4 separate regions of the Homo sapiens genome follow, and regions 2, 3 and 4 are each linked to region 1. Evidence: promoter capture Hi-C in human tissues and cell types (Jung and others, 2019). All regions are on one chromosome and are shown on one strand. Each heading gives the region's core, a stretch centred on a gene start or on the middle of the fragment in contact. The rest is flanking DNA. Distances are from core to core; before and after follow the strand shown.

Region 1 (2,918 bases), core at 168-2,667:
ACTGTCAAACAGGGCAACGCCTACTCAGCGTTTTCCAAACTGGTCAACTGAACTCTTCTCTGGAAGGGCTGTCTCCTTTAGTCTTACTCTAAAAAGGGTAATTTTTCACCAGAATAAAGGCAAATATTTTAAGAATGCTTCAAATGAAAAGAGGATTGCAGAAATATTAACCTTTAATTGTACCTGAAACAAAGCACCTGAAATTAATAAAGAAGTCAGCCACTGACGAGAATCACTAGGTCTGTCCTGTTCCCAGGGCACGAAACAGAAGCGTCTTAATCCACTAAGCACATTAGGGCCTAACAAACTGGACTGAGTAACAAGGTTACCTAGTTCTTCCAAACAGGAATTAACCAAAGGGGATCATTATGATTAAGCACAATGCGCGGAATACGCAATTTCTAGTTGGGGAATTCAACAGCTGACAGCTTGTAAGCATCAAAATTCATAACAAGTGCAAGGCTCGGAATCACAGGTCCAGCACTGGACGATGCCCGGCGCGCCGGGAAGCGGCGCCTCAGACGGCGGCCCCGCGTCCCCATGGTCCCTCCCTGCGCCCAGAACCGGGCAGCTCCTTCCCGCCGCCGCCGCCGCCAACGGGAGGCTGGGGGCACTCCCGAAATAGGAGCGGAAGCCCCGACCCACGCCGCCCTCCGCCGCAGGGACGCCCACTCGCCAGGTGACCGCGTCCCCACGCTCCGCGTTGCCCGGGCGCCGCCAGGACCTCGGAGGCGGCCGGCCCAGCCCCGACCCTGTGCGGACGCGGCACAAAGGCGCGGCGCGCGGACCCCGACCCGGCCGGACCCCGGCCGCGTCCCCCGGCCCCGGCCCGCGCCCCTGGCCCCCGCCCCGCGCCCCTCACCCGGCCCACCTCGGCCGTAGGCCTTGGCGCAGATCCACTGCAGGTTGGCGGCGATCTTGGCGCGCGCCGCGTCGTAGCGGTCCAGGGGCACGAGGTCGGCGGCGCCGTCCGGCGGGGCCTCCATCTTCCTCCAGCCCTCGGCGGCGGCGCGGCCGCTCGCGTCCACCATCTGCAGACAAAGGGCTGAGGCGGCGGCCCGGCCGCAACAAAGGCGCCGCCGCCCCTCGCCGCGCCGGGCCCGGTGCGCCCCGAGCCACCACTCGGCCCCGCAGCCGGCCAGCCGGGAGGGGCGCCCGAGCGCGGCCCCCGCCTCACCTCACAGCCGCCGCCGTCGCCGCCCCCGCGGCTGCTGCATGCTGCGGGCGCTGAGCCCGAGCGGAGGAGGTGCCGAGCCCGCGGCCCAAAGAGGCGGCGGCAGGAGGGCGCGGGCCGGGGGCGGGGGCGGGCGCGGGGGCGGGAGCGGGCCGGGGGCGGTGGCAGCGCGTGCGCGGTCCCGGGTGAGCGGCGGCGGCGGCGACAGCGGCTGAGGCGGTGGCCAAGGAGCGGGAGCGCGCTCACCGCCGGGGCCTCGCACAGGCGCAGTAGGCACCGCCCGCCACCCCGCCCTCGACCCCGCCCCCAGCTCCGCTCCCTTCTCGCGCCTGCCCCGCCCCTTTCCGCAGGCGCAGTAGGCACCGCCCGCCAGCCCGCGCCCGCCCCGCCCCTTTCCGCAGGCGCAGTAGGTGGCACCCGCAGGCCTGTGCCTGCCCCGCCCCTTTCCGCAGGCGCAGTGAGCGTCGACCCGCCCCTCCCCGCCCGCTTCCGCAGGCGCAGTAGGACCCGCCCTGGTCCGCGCCTGCCCCGTTGCTTTCCTCAGGCTCTAAGGCCCGCGGTGTGGAGCGCGGCGTAGGCAGCGGGGAGTGGGCGGCGCGGGGTGGGTGGAGTGGGTCGGCGGCGGGGATCCTGCCGAGCCCGCAGCTGCCCTCTTTTAGCGCCGTGTCTCCTCCCCGGCCCTGGCTCGTCCCACCTCAGCCACAGCCCGGCCCCCTGGCCGGCCGAGGTCTCGCCGCCGGCGCCCTGGGGACCTCGTGGGTGTGGCCGGCGGCGACCTCGGCAGGCGACAGCCCAGCAGACGGGCACCAGGTGGACGTGCCAGTCTCCAGACCCCCGTCCCGGTGCAGGGAAGGTGGGCGTTTGGACCCCTGAGGCAGAAACAGGTGCGGCCCCGCCGGCGCATCCCCCGGAAGGGACGCTGACTTCGTTCCCCTGGAGCCTGCGTCGGGGCCCGCGCTGGGCTGAGAATTACGGGAACGCCGTGAGAGTTTGCATTCCGAGGATTTGGTCTGAGAACCTCACCAGCGAAATAGAGAACTGCCCCCGGGAGAGCCGGCCCACGTGCCGCCCACCGGCGCCTTGACGGCAGGGAGAGGTCGAGCTTCCAGGGAGCGGGCGCCCGGCGCGGGGCTCCCAGCCTGTCTGTACCTGGTCGAGACACCCCGTGCCAGAGGCGGAACATGTATGAAATGCCAGGTGCCCAGAGGACCCAGGCAGTCCGTCATTCACATACCAACCCACGTGCAGGCTTCAATTCAACCTTGAAGCCATTTGGGCCTGGGCTTTTTTGATGACTTATTTGATTCATAGTTTTTTGGTTACTAATTGAGTCTCTTCACTTGTTATAGGTCTGTTGAGATTGTCTATTTTTTCTTGAGTCAGCCGTCTGAAAAGAACACGAGGTGGACAGGGCAGAGCGGTCAAGGAAAGCCATAGGAGGAGGGCACTTATTTGAGCAAAGACCGGCGGGACGTGGGCGTCGAGGGTAAGGATATCTGCAGAAGTACTGTCTTGAGCAAGGAGCACGGCAGACAGAGCCTCTGAGACACGAGAGCCTGGAGTGTAAGAAACACAGTAGAGGCCACTAAGTCGAGAACGCAGGAGCTGGAAGGACTGGTAGGAAATGGGAGGTGGGGACATGGAGGGATGCAGACAGGTCCTGCACAGTCAGAACTGTGGCCCCTTCTCTGCAGGAAATGGGCAGCCTTCGGAAGACTGAGCACACGGAAGGATATGACTAACC
Region 2 (2,918 bases), core at 136-2,635, 410 kb before region 1:
TACAGGAATTGAGTTTCTTACTACTTCTTAGCCTGCAATGCCCTGTGGCAGCTCAGAGCTGGCTGAGTCTACAGCAAGACAGTGGAGGTGCTGCTGTGCTCACGCCCCGCAGCGGAGTTTCAGGGTAGAGAGGAGAGGAGACTCACCCGACACAAATCAGTGGAGCTGAGACCACAACTGGGCTTTCTCCCCCCACGGCCCTGCCCCCCACTGCCCTTATCCCCACTTCCTTGTATGAGGCTCTAGGGAGCACGGTCGCCGCTCACTGGCGGGCGATGACAGCGCGGGCCCCGGATGACCACTCGATCTTCTTGATTTCTGTAGCTAGGACCTTGGGGGTCTTGCGGGGTCTCTCACACACGGGGCTATCGAGCAGTGGACGCCAGGACCAGGCGGGCCCCAGCTTCCTCACCTGTAGCCCCGGAACCACCCCGGGTTGTTGAACCTGCCCGGCAGGTCCGCGCTCACGCGGTAGTAGTCGCTGGTCCTCTCCGGCGGGGCCGTGGCCTTGGGCGCCACAGGCTCCGCGCACGCTCTGGGGCATTCCTCAGCCATTGTGCCTGGAGGAGAAGCGGGACTCGGCGGCGTCCTGTTGCCAAGCGACGGCCAGGTCACGTGACTGGGGAGCGAGCGGAGGGGCCTTAAAGGCGCCGCGCGTGGGCCGGGTTCCTCTGCGGGTGGGTCCGGAACCTGCCGGGCGACTCCCCAAGGGCCGGGAAGGTCGGGACGGCGAGAGATTCCCTGCTGGGACCGTCGTGTGAGGCAGCCCCAGGCCCCCAGCCACCCGCGGGGGGACCGGGCCACCCCAGCATCAGGGCGTGGACTCCCGGGCGAAAGAAACCCCAGGGCCTGGGACCCCGCCAGCCGGGTGACGGGGTTTAAGCACTGCAGGTCCACTCGGCAGGCAACGATTGGACTTTTGCTGTCCAATGTACTCCAGGGATGCTATGCCCCCCAGCACCCCGAGTCTAAATTGAGACCCGAGATCTGGCTAACTTTATGAAATTCTCCTAAGCCAAATATCGTTTAAATATTACAAACAGTTTTGGAGAGCGAGAGGTTGCGCAGGACGTGGTTCACAGCTCACTTGGCGGGAGGCGAGGGTCCCCATCGCCCAGCGGGCTTCCCCAAGGGTCAGGGGCCTCCCGGGCTGGCCGGTCCCATTAGCAGGGCGGGGCGAGCTGCAGGGCGAGGACCGTGGCTCCACTCCCCGCCCGAGACTCTCAAGCCCAGGACCCCGGGCCCTGACCCCTCGCGTGCCCCGCCCCCGCAGGGAGGTCCCAGCCGCCTGGGGACAGCGCTGTGGCTCCTCCGGGCCTGTAGGCGGCACTGCGGCCCCGCGCGGATGGCGACGGAAGGGGAGGCCGCTCGGCCTGGCCTGGAGGGAGACCTCGCTCTGCCCCGCGTCCCAGCCATGGCGACATCCTCGGCCGCGCTGCCCCGAATACTCGGCGCGGGTGAGCGCGCGCTTGCGGGACCCTGGGGAGGAGCATGCGAGGAGGATGCGGAGGGGCGCGGGGACCCGATGGAGCGGCGGGGACGTGGAGGGGACCCGGGGCGAGCGCGGAGGGGACTCGGGGAGGGCGCGGGGACGCGGAGGGGACCCGTTAGGGACGCGGAGGGGCCCGTTGGGGATGCGGTGGGGAGCGGGCGTGGTGCATTCGGGACTCGGCGCCAGGACCTCTATCTACTTCCCCCCAGGTGCCCGGGCCCCGTCGCGCTGGTTGGGCTTTCTCGGGAAGGCGACCCCCCGGCCTGCTCGGCCGAGCCGCAGGACGCTTGGAAGCGCGACGGCCCTTATGATCCGCGAGTCGGAGGACAGCACCGGTAACACTGGGCGCCCAGCCGAGTTGGGTGGGAACGAGGAGAGGCCGGCAGCCGCGGGGGATGCGAACCCTAGAGGGGCCTGGGCGCTGCACGCGGTCGAAACTGCGCGCTCCGCTGGGCTCCTCCCACTCCCGTGCTCGCCGCCGCTCGGTCCTGCCTGACGTAGCACAGCGGGCTGAGGCCACCGCCTCACCATGGATAGGGTGAGAGGGAGCGGGCGGGCCAGTGGTTAGCACAGGCTTCGCTCCCTAGGGGGGTGTCACTGGACCACCGAGGCCCGGAGCCCCGAGCTCGCCCAGGCGGGCCCAAGTGACCTGGGGGCACTGGGCTTGGAGTCTGCCCACCTTGCTGGACTCCTGATGGGGACTTTCTGGCTGGCCACCTGAGACCACAAGGCGGGGAGGTGCCAGAAAGACCTGAGCAACCCGCTGGGCCCCTCTCTTTTTCTCCTCTGTCTTCCAAGTAAGACCAAGGGACGGGGTTGACCAGGTTCGACCAGGCTTACCCAGGAGCAAGGTCGGGATCAGAACCTGGCTCCAGCCCTCTGTTTCCTGAAAAGGTCCCTGTGCTTCCAGGTCTTTCCTGGGGCTGCTGGGCTCCCGGCTCCCCACCTCGGTGTCACAGAAGGCACTTGGGAGCAGGGGTGGGCGGGAACTGCGCTCTGCCTGTCTCTGCTGCCACCGGTGGGAGACGCAGCGTCGCTCCTCCTCCCTGCCGTAGATTTCAACGACAAGATTTTGAATGAGCCCCTCAAGCACTCTGACTTCTTCAATGTCAAGGAACTGTTTTCCGTGAGAAGCCTCTTCGATGCCCGAGTCCATCTGGGACACAAAGCTGGCTGTCGGCACAGGTAGGTGACACCCCCATCTGAGCCCGGGGCGGTTCCCAGGAGGAACCTGGGACCTGCTCTGGTTCTAGGGCCACTTTTGAACTGGCCTATGTCAGTTTTAGGTGATTACAGCCCCATCCTCCTCCACATGGGAATACAGAGCCCCACAGAGAAGCAGGAGTTTATTCCTCAGCTTGGCGGACGCTCTTGTGTGCCTTGGTGTGGCGCTCACAGCCCTTGATAGGGCAGGCCTGCTGGGGGT
Region 3 (2,918 bases), core at 299-2,798, 310 kb before region 1:
ACTCTGCCTGACCTCGGAGCACTGGGTCCTCCTTCCCTGCCCTCCCTCCCCAGGCAGGGTCCTTGGAGCTCCCAGGGCCCAGGACTGAGCCAGCGTCCCCCACAGCCAGGACCCTAGAGGCAGACGACAAGGTCATGGAGGAATTCATCAGCTTTCTCAGGACCCTGCCCGTGCACATGTGGATCTTCCTGGACGTTACCCAGGCGGAAGGTGAGCTCCACCCAAGACAGGCCCAGCCTCGGCTGGAGGAGAAGCCACCACTGTCCCAGCCCAAGCCCCCCGCTGGCCCTGTAGGACTCAGGGCAGCACCCGTCACTCCTCGTTGGCCCCTCCCATGTTCTCCCCAGGGCTCCCCTGGGGATGCAAAGGCACCCTGAGGTGGGGTCCCGTCCCCCTCCCATCATCCCCCAACCTCTGGCCCTGGGACTGCTGTGTCCCCAGCTAAGTCTCCCCTCCCACTGACGCCCCCACTGCCCCCTCTCCTCCCACAGAACAGTGCCGCGTCTAGATGAGCTCCTGCTCAGTCCTGCCTCCTGGGTAATGTACCAGCCCCGCCCATAGCCTGAGGTCGCCTTTCTGGGCTCCTGGAAGAGACCCCACTGTGTCCATTCCCCAGGGCTGACCCTGAGCGATGGGCTGGAATCCTGGGGCATCTGGAAAAGCCCAGCTGGCCATGTGCCCGCGTCTCTGGGGTTGGCTGCTCCAGATGCCATTTCCTGTGTCCTGGGCACAGGATGAGGCCTTCTCCTCCAGGGTGGGGGTGAGTGAGGGTGGGGGGCTCAGGGGTGGGCCTGGGATCATAAGCCCCTCCGGCCTGAAGCTGGGGGTGAGGTGGGGGCTCCTCTCACATAAGCAGGGGTCCCTCACTCTAGGACCTGCAGGGGCAGGGTCCTAGAGTCACAGGGGAGCCCTTTTGTGCACATCAGGTCCTGGAGCCTCGGCCCCTGTGCGGACGGAGAGGATGTCGCCTTCCTGGGAGGGACAAGGAGGCTGAAGACCAAGGCACGTTTCCTGGGACGCTGGGACCTCCTGGGTCTCAGCCTGGGGTCTCCTGTCCTAAGCTGTCCCTCTTTGAACAATAAATAACCCCGTCCCCTGAGTCTGTGCTGGCAGGCGCGTGGGGATGCAGCTGAGGGCAGGCTGTGGGGCTGGGGAACTCGGGGACTGGCAGACTCAGGGGCTGGGGGGATCGGGGACTGGGGGACTCAGGGGCTGGGGTCTCAGAGGCTGGGGGGCACGGGGGCTGGGGACTCGGGGGCTGGGGACTCGGGGGCTGGGGGACTCGGGGGCTGGGGGCTTGGGGCCTGGATGACTCAGGGGCTGGGGGACTGGGCTGGGGGGCTCAGAGGCTGGGGGGCTCAGGGGCTGGGGGGCTTGGGGGCTGGGGGACTCGGGGGCTGGGGGGTTGAGGGAACTGAGTTCATGGTTTCTGTATTGTAGGCCCTATCATATTTGGGGATCAAGACACTATAGGAGGCTTTAAAATTTTCAGGAACTAGATAAGAGTGCTGCTGAGATGGCCAGAGCTTGCCATTCATGTTGGAGGTCCAGGCCACACAAAGGACAAAATATGAAAAATCACAGACCCATTCATTGAATAAATATTGATATAAAAACTTAAATGAGTGTTTTACAAATCAAATTCTGCACTATTTAAAAAACACAAACCCCATGACCTCCAGGGCATCTCTCTGGAGCATAAGGGAAGTTGCTACCAGGAAGAGCTTTGCTATCAGCCTTCATCTGCTCATAAATGCCATTGATCTTTTCTGGGCTAATGTGAAATAAAGAGATTTCCCCTGGATTGAGGAACTGAACAAAAGAGGTGAGATATGGGAGAGGAATTTGTTTTTCATTATAAAATATTTTGAACATCACAAAAGGAAAAAGAATATGCAACAACAGAAATAGATTTGTCAATAATTGTAACATGCATAACTTTAAATTTTCAAAATATAGATGGCATGGATACATTTCCAATAAAATATCAATGACCAATATTGGCTCAAAAAGTAGAGGAAACTTAGAAAGAACAATCATCATAGAAAAAACCAGAATAGTTCCAGATCTTCTGTCTGTGGATGAGAATAAAAAACCTTTATCTGATAGTTCCTGGCTCATACGATCCATTCCAGGGCATAGAAAAAGACGGTGAGTTGCTCAGCTGCCCTGATAACAAAACTGGAGAAGGAAGATACAGGAAAAGGAAAGCTGTCAACTTTCAGAATCAAGACACAAATATCTGAATACCTTATTAGCAGACTGAATCTAACAAACGTATTTAATACATCATGATTTAGCCCAAAAAACAAAGAACATTTCAATATTAGAAAATGTATCAATAAAAGCCAGGTGTGGTGGCTCACACCTGTAATCCCAGCACTTTGGGAGGCCAAGATAGGCAGATCGCCTGAGGTCAGGAGTTCAAGACCAGCCTGACCAACACGGTAAAACCCCGTCTCTACTAAAAATACAAAAATTAGCTGGGTGTGGTGGCAGGTACCTGTAATCCCAGCTACTCCGGAGGCTGAGGCAGGGGAATCACTTGAACCTGGGAGGTGGACATTGCAGTGAGCCGTGATCATGCCACCTCACTCCAGCCTAGGTGACAGAATGAGACTCCATCTCAAATGTATCAATAAAATTAACTAACTTAAGACTAAGGGAGAAGTGCCATATAAGAATCTTTAATTAATTTTTAAAAATATGTTTCAAAAAATATAATATTCCATTCATGAAGGAGACCTTGCACATCAAGAGTGTCATTCAACATTAAATAGCATATGCTGTGCTTATAAGTAACCCTGAAACCCTGAAATGAATGAATCAATCACTGAAAGCACCAAAGAGTTATTTCTTGCTTATGCAAAATTTCCTTTGTGGCTTAGCAGGAGAGTTGACTCCTCATGGTCACTCAA
Region 4 (2,918 bases), core at 114-2,613, 320 kb after region 1:
AGAGCCCCCCCAGGGCGCGGCGAGGAGCAGGCCAGGCAGCTCCACCGGGTCCCTCACAGGCAGAGCCCCCCAGGGTGTGGCCTGCGGGGTCTGATCACACTCTGGGCGATGCTCGGCTGGGTGGGATCATTTGTAAAAATTCATCGGGTGGGTACATGTGATCTGTGCACATCTCCAAATATTTTTACAATAAAAAATTTACTCTGAAAAAGTTTTTACTACAATATTTGCCAAGCAAGGCAAAGCACAAAATTAAAATTTCTCTTTGAAACTATTAATATCTGAACTCTTAAGGGAAAGCAGGCAGGAAGGTCAGCAGAGGGAAAGGTGCTGACCCAGGCTGGGAGCTCCCCAGGCTCTGGGACCGTGTGTCTTTAGCAGGTTTATGAGGGGAATCTCAGGGACTAAAATACAATGCTTATGTCCTTACCTTTAAAATTTTCTCCAGTTGTAAACTCCTTTGTAAATGCTTTAAAATACTAAGAGGAAAAACACAGAACAAGTAAGAGGCAGCCTTCCATGGGCATCTGCATGTGTTTAAGCAACAAAACGCCCGTCACCTTAGAGGGAGCTTTACTCAATTTCCTTCGGAAAGTTTTCATAAATTAATGACAAACCACACGCTTCTCCTTGTCTTTGTGCATATTAATGTTTCCTGTCAGATTTACGAGGGGGCTAAGGTTAGCTCCAATCAGCATTCCCATCATTTACATTTTCTGACCCAACAGGGCTAGAAGCAAGACAGTTCAACTGGGCTGGAATCATAAAAGACACCGCTCTCTGGGACTTGGTAGTGAGCCTATGTCTTAATGGTTAGCTGTAGCGTTAGCTGTGACAACACGGAGGATGTGCAGGAGGAGGAGACACCACGCAGTATCTCTGAGTGGATGATTAGGTTCTTATGTTAACATTAAAAACTTTCTTCATCAAAGGGTACGTTAGAGACAGCGACGAGACAAGGTTACATGATGGCGGAGATGAGGTCGGTAAGAAAAGCACTGGCCAGCTAAGAGGGAAACGTGCAGATGACAGGAAGACACTTCACCCATGACACCCACGGCCCACAAAGCCAGATGTGCTGGCACTGCAGCCGCCAGGGAAATGCAAACGAAGCCGCCAGTGCTTCCTGCTGCACTGGTCCCTGGGCGAGCACAAAACTGCCTGACACTGCTGGCCCTGCAGGTCTGTTGTGCACAGACCCGGTTCGCGGCCCAGTGGCTTCTCTCCCAGCCTCAGCTCTCCCCTTGCCCGGGAAGGCGCACAGCAGCGCCGTTCAAAGCCACCAAAGCCTGGAAGAGCCCACACACCTGGCAACGGGGGGCTCTGGTTCTCAGAGTGACGTCACTGGACAATCCCATCCAATGAGCATCGTAGTGGATCTGGGCAATGTCCCATTAAGTAACAGAAAGAGGGCCCGAAAGTTTACATACAGCACAGTGTGAACTGTGTCTGAAGCAAAATCAAAATACAACAGGAAGCCATGCTGACGTAATCACACGCAGAGGCAGGCAAGCAAGTGTGCGACACAGGCCCCGAGAGGCCCTGGGGCAGGGCTGACACCGGTGCCGCCCAGCGTGGCACCTGTTAGGGCAGGACCACAGGTGCTGCCAGCACAGTGAAAACAACAGCCCCCAAAATACAAGCGAAGCCACCATGACATGACACCACACCACACAGCAAGGCACCAGGGCTGACAAGGACGGAGTTTTACTCAAATTGACAAAGCTTCCCAGGAAGTGGGCCCAAGGCGCCCACGTTTCTGGAGATGTCCATGTCAAGGCACGCAGGAGGCAGTGGCACCCGCAGGTACACACATGCTATGCACGGGCCTGCAACAGGGTCACAGGTACCTCCGCCCCCTAGTGGGAGCAATGGGCACAGCCTTGTCTGCAGGGCTGACTTTGGCTGGGGAAGGCAGAGGCCCTGTGCCTGTGTGTGCGTGTGTGTGTGCATGAGTGTGCATGTGTGAGAGCCCCATGGTACACGGACCACACGCGTGGCTTCAGGCTGGGGTGCCAGCCCTCGCAGTCCTGGTCTCCTTGCGCCCCCTGGCCGTGCAGGCTGCAGGGGGTCTTTTCACGCATCCCCTCCATGTGACCGGGTCTGTGTGAGCGTGGACAGTCCCACAGACACTTCCACAGCACAACAGGGTGGAACAAGAGCTGCCCCCACCAAACATCAGCTCCTACAATTCCTACGAAGTTCCAAGGAGAGAGCCAGAGAAGCCGAAAACACAGGCACTATGATGTGGCGAATTTCAACAGACAAGCAGCCGCGTGATGCTCACCTGGAAGGTGGGGTAGAAGGTGAATTTCAACGGACAAGCAGCCGCGTGATACTCACCCGGAAGGTGGGGTAGAAGTGGATGTCGTAGTCATGGCACACGGCCTGGTTCTTCTCTTCCATGCAGTCCAGAGCTGCGACGCGAATGGCACTGGCCCAGTCTGAAAAGCAGGAGCATGACCTTCAGTGTGGTGAGCACTGGACTCCCGGGAAGCCCAGGACCCAGCAGTCCCCACTCCAGGCTGCGGCCACCTGCGAGACCAGCCCACCTGCCCCCTCTAGGTCATCAGTTAGGCCCTCATCACACAGAGCGTCTATGTGGAGCTAGGAGAGAGAACTCCACCAACAGCACGATGCCTCTCCTACCACAGATAGTCACAGAACAAGCGGATTTGTGCTGAACCTGCACATCACGGAGCAGGGACAAGGCTGTGGGCCCCTAATTAAATGACACCCTGATGGATGAAAGCGCTGGTAACAGACGCGGCTGTCAGCGGCCGGCACTTAAGTCAGGACAGCAAGCAAGTACGTGCAGATTAATCAGATACGGTCCAGGCTGTTTGGCAAAAACATTCCCGTGTTCTCACTCCAGCGAGTACTGGCAGCATCTGAGCAGGGTCTTTCAAGGCAAGGAT

What was found. Contacts are between HindIII fragments. The study calls those that stand out against the background at their distance.
Region 2: a contact is called between the fragment with the promoter of MRPS2 here and the fragment with the promoter of CAMSAP1 in region 1, in 1 of the 25 tissues and cell types used here (dorsolateral prefrontal cortex).
Region 3: a contact is called between a fragment that was not itself captured here and the fragment with the promoter of CAMSAP1 in region 1, in 1 of the 25 tissues and cell types used here (dorsolateral prefrontal cortex).
Region 4: a contact is called between a fragment that was not itself captured here and the fragment with the promoter of CAMSAP1 in region 1, in 2 of the 25 tissues and cell types used here (liver and lymphoblastoid cells).

Annotation. Positions count from the first base shown.
Region 1 is chr9:135,906,129-135,909,046 of GRCh38, forward strand. CAMSAP1 (calmodulin regulated spectrin associated protein 1) reads right to left here and starts at 1,418. Exons shown (of 17, transcript NM_015447.4): 1 at 872-1,418. The coding sequence starts at 1,031. CAMSAP1-DT (CAMSAP1 divergent transcript) reads left to right here and starts at 1,705. Exons shown (of 2, transcript XR_007061860.1): 1 at 1,705-2,791. RefSeq lists silencers at 557-606, 1,007-1,076, 1,157-1,266, 1,307-1,986. The HindIII fragment of the contact is 39,877 bases long and covers 1-2,918 here.
Region 2 is chr9:135,499,297-135,502,214 of GRCh38, forward strand. MRPS2 (mitochondrial ribosomal protein S2) reads left to right here and starts at 1,386. Exons shown (of 4, transcript NM_016034.5): 1 at 1,386-1,457; 2 at 1,702-1,827; 3 at 2,548-2,677. The coding sequence starts at 1,415. It overlaps PIERCE1 (piercer of microtubule wall 1), which reads right to left and starts at 573. Exons shown (of 3, transcript NM_001048265.2): 1 at 413-573. The coding sequence starts at 555. RefSeq lists silencers at 676-845, 1,116-1,285, 1,496-1,655 and an enhancer at 1,611-2,235. The HindIII fragment of the contact is 18,925 bases long and covers 1-2,918 here.
Region 3 is chr9:135,591,766-135,594,683 of GRCh38, forward strand. It overlaps the pseudogene PAEPP1. Among named protein-coding and RNA genes, the nearest start is that of LINC01502, 18 kb to the left of the region's middle. The HindIII fragment of the contact is 7,979 bases long and covers 1-2,918 here.
Region 4 is chr9:136,224,431-136,227,348 of GRCh38, forward strand. It overlaps QSOX2 (quiescin sulfhydryl oxidase 2), which reads right to left. Exons shown (of 12, transcript NM_181701.4): 2 at 2,344-2,444; 3 at 431-479. Among named protein-coding and RNA genes, the nearest start is that of QSOX2, 20 kb to the right of the region's middle. RefSeq lists enhancers at 955-1,004, 1,185-1,264, 1,395-1,614. The HindIII fragment of the contact is 5,657 bases long and covers 1-2,918 here.